Linked DNA regions of Homo sapiens: region 2 is linked to region 1. The links are contacts of gene promoters, found by promoter capture Hi-C in blood cells and fetal thymus (Javierre and others, 2016). All regions are on one chromosome and are shown on one strand. The core of a region is centred on a gene start or on the middle of the fragment in contact, and the rest is flanking DNA. Distances in the headings are between cores, read along the strand shown.

Region 1 (3,330 bases), core at 538-3,037:
AATGGTTTTGTGTTAACTGCCGCTGACAAATCATTTTACGATGTAAGTCCCCAAAGTGTTTTCTGGCTCATAAACTAACAGTTTAAGATTTGAGACTGCTTTCTAATAAATTAAAATTTTATAAGCAATTTTTTTTGTCGGAGGACACACAAAATCTTTCATTTTTCTCATCAAAAACTTTGGGAGAGTAAAGCAAAAAGAAGACTCTAGGAACTAATTTGGGAAAGATTCGTTTCTTTGTTTTAAAGGTAAAAGCATGTGAAAAGCAAATATAAGCAGTTTTTAAACTTAAGAGGAAATGACAGGTAATTCTATTAGAAAAATGGTGTATGTATTTTTACTTACTAATGCAAAGTTTAACAATTACCACTTCATGTATTAAAAGATACTAACTATGGGGCTTGTTGTCACTTACCTTCAGGTTTACTCTCGCAGTTAAAACCTCGGCTTCCTCCATAACAAGTACAAACCAACGCATTGCCTAGGTAGGTCCGCTCCCACTGTTGATTTATCTGATAGTGTTTTCCATTGTCATAACAACCGGCTGCAAATAATTGAAGGAAAACGTTACATTTGCATTTCTCCTTTTCCCAAAATTATGGAATTTTCTTCATGTGAATATTGACGTACATATTTTTTTCCTTTTAACTTTGCTAAAAGTTATATACAATGATGTCATTTCCATCTGGCCAGGGGTCTACATAAAAAAGTTGGAAACATTTTGGAAGGCAGACAATTGAAGTCACATTTTTAAAACATGCAAGGAACTTAAATATTCTTTTGGAGTAATAGTCAAAAAGGACAACTTTAAGCAGCTTTCTCAAAGCAAAAGGAGGGTGTGTCTTTGAAAAACGGAAAGAATTCCAACCTCTGTTCTTGGTGAAGTATCCTGAGCGGCCCTAAAGAGGTCTGAACCAATTACATCTCTTCCAAGTTAGTTAGAAACAAGACAGCTATTTCAATACCCCCTTTCCACCCCCATGTTGAAAATATTTGACCAATTATTTAACAGAAGGAAATAAGTAGCAGTAAGGACCACACTAATCCCAGACGGAAAATTTATAGACATGCATCATTTTTCTCTTTAAAGGCAAGTTTTGGTTAATTCCTAGAAGGACAATCTGAACGTGCAGAATTTATTAGAACACGGGAAAGTCGCAGAGTCCTCGTCCTCCAATGCACGGTCTTATCATCCCAGGCCCTCAGAACCAGCGTGCTCAAAACTCGGTCCTTTTGTGTGCACAGCTGGTTTCTCTCAGTAAAGCGCGCACACACTCGCACACACGCGCGCGCACAAAACTTCAGCCCCAACTTTGGTCGGCTTTAGGGTCCCATCCCTGAGGCAGCCTGTTTCAGCCCGCGGTCAGTACTCACGCTTGCTTTGACTGACAGCCACCGGGGACTGGGGCTGAACCATTTGCTGAGCCTGCCTCTTGCTCTTCGAGGCTCCCGTGGAGGGCACCGCTGTCCCCAGGCACTGGACGGCCAGCAGCAGCAGCCCGGGCCCCGGACCCCTAAGCATGTTGAGACGGTGGGGGAGAGACGCCCGCACCGGGAGGCAAGTTGCCACCAAGTTTGCTTCCCTTCGCAACCTGCGGGAAAAATCCCTTCTAATGCCTCCCGGGGGTTGTCGCCTCCAAGAAGGTGGGGGCCAGAGGGTGGGGAAGGGGACGGGTGGAGGGACAGAAGGGATGCAGAGGACCAGAGAAGTTGTGGCTGCAGGTCCCCTCTTCCCGCTCGCGCCTGGGGTTCCCTCTCCTCCCCCTGTGCAGCACAGCCGGCGCGGGCGTCCGAGCGCCGGGAGCCGGGGCTTATATGGGACGGTCCCCTCCCGCCCCTCTGGAGGCCCGGGGCGCGGGGGAGGAGAGACCCGCCGGGCTGTCCCCGCCCCGCCCCACCCCACCCGCCCGCCCGCCCGCCGGCCGCCGCAGCCGACCGCGCGCCGATTGGCCCGGGCTCCGGGTGACGTCACGGGGGACTGTGGGTTCGCAGCGAACAAAAGAGATGCTGATGGCCCGCCAGGACTGGGGCAAGACAACTTTTTTTCGGTTTCCTTTGCGGTCATCAAACTTTTTAGGGGATGGGGGAAGGGATGGGAAGCGGCTGGGAGGAAAGGGAGTGGCTGGACTTGTGTGAAGCGAAGGGGTTGCAAGACGCTCCCCCTTCCCTTTTCTTTTTTATTGGGGGTGGTGGTAGTGTTTGAGGACATTGCGTCACCTCTCTTCGGGGTGGAGGGGGGGAATCTCTGCTTATAGGAGTGTATTTTGTGAGGAAGAAAACCCATAAAATATCCACGACCTTGCAGCTGTTAAGAATCCAGACTTTTCAGTCCCAGGGCGGGGCTGCCTTTCCCCCCATCCCGCTCCCTTTCTTTGGACTAAAGGGTACTGACTCGGGACTCCCTTATTTTGTCTTCACAGCTCCCTGTTCGGACTTCTTCCCTTCTCAGCGCTGTGCCTGTCTGGCTCTGAGAAAGGGCCAGCGGGCGAACGGGGAGCAAAGGGGAACAGAGACCTTTAATGAGCTTCTACTAAGTACCGGGAGTTCCGCGGGGCGCTTTGCAGATCCCGGGGAAGTTCAGAGAATGAAGTTTTCTTTTGCAAGGACAAAGTAACAGTTTACTTTTTTACACATGCAGGAAAGCCTTCCTTTCCTGGGGATGGGACGCCCGTTTCCACTGAAAGTGAAATCACTGTGAACAACCTGAAAATTGGAAAGTTGGACCAGCTGTGGGGAGAGAAAGGTCTTCGTGTCCTTTCCCACGTTCACCGTGCCAGTTACACACAAAGCAGAGATTTTTTTGCTTGAATCATTAAAAGCCGGGTGGGTGGGGGGCACCCTATGTACTGTCTTGCCCTCCTTCGGCCCCTTTCTCACATTTATTTGCCATTTTCTTTTTGCTGACAAGTTCCATTACAGAATGCCCCCTCCATCCCCCGCCGCCAGATTTTTTATATTTCAATTGTTATTTACTCCAAGAGTGTGGAAAGTTCTCCTTTAAGATTCCCCCGCCTTGAACTCTAAACTCAGAGTGGAAAGGGAATCTGAAAAGTCTCTCATTTAGCAACACATCACATCAGTCCTTTTTGTCAGATAAACACAGGCACAATTGCTTTTAAAGATCTTCAGAAGGAGGAGTCCACCACTTCCACAGTAGATCCAGAGAGACCCGAACTGAATGCTTTGCCTTCTCCTTGTGTTAGGAGTTCAGAGGTTCCATTTGCTTTAAAACACAAGAAGCTACTAATAAAATATATTTATTTCGGCAAGGTACCTATTTTCTCCAAAAGTTTCACCTTCAGTAATTGCCACAGGAGTAATTAGAACTCT
Region 2 (3,330 bases), core at 545-3,044, 2.2 Mb before region 1:
GAAATGACTGGCAAGTGACTGAAGATGCAGGGTTTGCTGCAATAAGAGGTATCAGATGTGAAGCAATCCTGATGTTTTAATATTGGCCAGCTATACACATTCCTATCTATTGTATTTGTTGTATATGGCTTATGGTTTTTTAAGATATAGGTGCAGTAAACAGTAGAGATCAAGAAAAAAAGTGTTTTGAGTTAAGTAGATTAATACAAATAAATCCTGAATGGTGACTGCTGATTTGTTTCAGTTCTTTTGATGTATTTTCACTTGTTTAAATGAGAGCTCCTAGAACAGATATTGGTTACAGATACTGGCACTTAACTTAGAAGCACATGTCATTGAATGACCTATGGGAAATAAACTTTTACCATGCTTTTAGAACTGATATTAGCAAGCAGTTGTCTAAGCTATATTTTTTCTCTGAATCTGCTAATTTTCATGACAACTATATTTGGTCAAGAAAATATACTATTGAAGTGATGCAACACTTCATCACTTTTCCCCCCATCTGACCTGTTTGCCTTGTTGCAACAACATTTTCAGTTTTATACCCGCAGACCATCATCCCATGCGTAGACCCTGATATTTGAAGTCAATGTTATTTCAACAACTGCATGGTTCGCGAAGGCTAGGGCGGGACGTGGAGACCCTACAAAACACTGGCTGTATGATGAGGAGAGATTCAGCAGCAAGTGGAGACCAGGTAGATAGGCAAATCTCAGAATCAAGAGGGTTTTGGCAAGAAACATTAGCCAGAAATCTATGCAGTGTAAGAGTCAAAGGGAAGAAGGTAGCTATGGACATTGGGGCTTAGAAGAAAATCTGAAGTATTAAGCAAGTGTTAGAAGAATAAGTCTGCATCTTAGTCCTAGAGCAACTACAATCCTGGATGAGAACCAAAGCAGAAGTATGGGCAGAAAGGCAGAGACCAGAATCCTCGACCAGGAGTGGGGACAAAATATCTGGTCTTAAGTGTCAAGAAGCTAAGTTTTAGAAGCTGGGTTTAAGGTCAGAATGAGACTTGATTCTGAGCTTACTCCTGGGATTCTTACAATCTTCCTGTCTAGCACCAAAGATCTGTTCCAATATCAGATACTAGAAGTCAGAGAATTTAGTTGACCTGTTCAAGATCACAAGCTAATTAGTGCTGGGGACAAAATTAGATTCCAAGTTTTCAATTCTCACACCAGGGCTCATTAGAACATGATCTGAATGAATCAGAAATGCAGATAGATATATTTAATTGTTTTTGATATGTTCATTTGTCACTACTGTTTCATAACTGCAAAGAGAATTAAAAATTTAGATCAGATTATGGAACAGATAAATTGAAGTAATTCATAGACCTATCTTGTAAAATATATATACATTTGTCTTGCAAAGGCTCAGAATTGACTGATTTTTCTGATTATTATTTATACATCTCAATGAGTTGAATATAGATGGATTCATTATAGATGGTTAATAATTATGTGATTTTCAGGTCAGAAAATTCCATTACCAGCAAATTGCTGAATAAGACATAATTTCATATATTCATCTTACTGATAGGTTTTTCTTTTTCTTTCTTTCATTATACAAAGTTGATATTAAAGAATTCTGGAGATTTTGTGTCTTGGTTTAAACTTTATTGATCTTTTATTGCCTTTATTTACGAAGTCTTTGAATTAAAAGTCTATATGGGATAAATTCTTATATTATTTGAAAATCAACCATTATCTAAAGTTATTTATGCTTTATCCAGTCATAATTAAATTTATAATTTTATGTTCTGTTTTTGTCTTATAACCTTTAAAGTTAGCATCATAGACCCTTTTTTCATACTGGAAATCGCCAACTGTTGTTTTCATTCTTGAAATTATTGCACTTCAGTCTTGCAGAATTGATATAAAGGAACTAATTTTTTGCATTAATCAAAACATAAAAACCAGTAATATTTCAGGATTGTACAAAATTTATCAGATAGTGGTACCAGCTGATGAACTGTAGTATTACAGCCCAGCTGCCTTAGATATCTCTGGGTTTTGTTTGTTTTTAAGCAGAATTGATTTTTTAAACTGTTGAATCATTGAGCTTTCTGGCCTTCATGGGTCCAGGACATTGATATTACAGTTTCATTTTACTACACAGAACCACACTGAAGAATTAAGGTGAACCTTAGACGGAGGTAGAAACTAACCTCTGAAAATCAAAGTGCTTACAGGAAGCTGCAGGTGTGGGGAGTGGGAGGAGAATGTGCCAAGGCAAGGGGAAGGGAGAGGTTTTTGAGGGAATTTCCGCCACTGAGAATATGAAGTCAGACAATTCACAGTAATAGGAGTTTTTTTGCTTTTTTTTACAAACCAAAAACAGGGAAGAAAAGAAAAGGTCAAAAATAAATGGCACGTCCAGAGACTGGGAAAGAGCTAGAAAGACGACAAAATATTACGTGATGATATCTATTAAATATATCCAAGTTGAAGTCTACACCCTTGCTACTGAAAGTGTGGCACAAGAACTAGCAACATCAGCACCAGATGGGAACTTGTCAGAAACGCAGACTCCTGGGCCCCAACCTAGAAAGATCAAACCAAGATCTGCATTTTGACAATAGCCTCCAGGCTGGTAGAATGCACATTCAGATTTGAGAGTAAAGTTTGGGGAACCTTTTTTTTTTTTTTTTAACATCAACATGAATAGAAATATACATTTAAAGTTATCAAAATTACTAGGAAATTTTTATTTAATGTTCAAATTTCACATTTTAAAATGATGAATAAATATTAGAAATCTTATCAAAATCTGTTTTACTTCTCTCAATTTTCTTCTTATAAAATTATCAAGGTATTTATAAAGCATGTTTAGTTAAAAGCACCCCATTATGTGTTTTATCATATTAAAACATTTTAATTTTTAATTGATTAAAATGAACTATGAGCCTGCTCTCTAAGTTGAAATTACATTTCTTCCTAAGTTTTGTGGCTGGATGATGCTGTTCTTTTACAACATTATTTTAAATAAATGTGTGAATACAAAGCACTGAGCTTGTTTTAAATACTCTACAAACCTGACAATGTTCTTTTTCTTGATCTGGTTACACGAGTGTGTTCAGTTTGTGTGTTAATTAATCAAGCTCTATGTTCATGATATATATACAATTTTGTGAGTGTATATAAAACATTTTAATTACAATTGTTTTCCAATTCAATAAATATTTCAACTTAATGAACATTTAATAAATAGTTCAGTAAACATTACCCTGATAAAAGAAACCTATACCAAGACAGCACATCTACTACCCTTAAAGCAGGTGTTTTGTGAGACTTTATGCATATCCCCAAAGTGCTGATATCG

What was found. Contacts are between HindIII fragments. The CHiCAGO score rates a contact against its expected background, and 5 or more counts as called.
Region 2: a contact is called between a fragment that was not itself captured here and the fragment with the promoter of FN1 in region 1, in 1 of 17 cell types (total CD4 T cells). The highest score is 5.9, in total CD4 T cells.

What each region holds. Positions count from the first base shown.
Region 1 is chr2:215,434,281-215,437,610 of GRCh38, forward strand. FN1 (fibronectin 1) reads right to left here and starts at 1,788. Exons shown (of 46, transcript NM_212482.4): 1 at 1,375-1,788; 2 at 416-544. The coding sequence starts at 1,522. FN1-DT (FN1 divergent transcript) reads left to right here and starts at 1,411. Exons shown (of 2, transcript NR_187198.1): 1 at 1,411-2,029; 2 at 2,639-3,330. RefSeq lists an enhancer at 1-299 and silencers at 1,812-1,871, 1,882-1,971. The HindIII fragment of the contact is 4,490 bases long and covers 1-3,330 here.
Region 2 is chr2:213,241,341-213,244,670 of GRCh38, forward strand. No RefSeq gene overlaps it. Among named protein-coding and RNA genes, the nearest start is that of SPAG16-DT, 41 kb to the right of the region's middle. The HindIII fragment of the contact is 4,627 bases long and covers 1-3,330 here.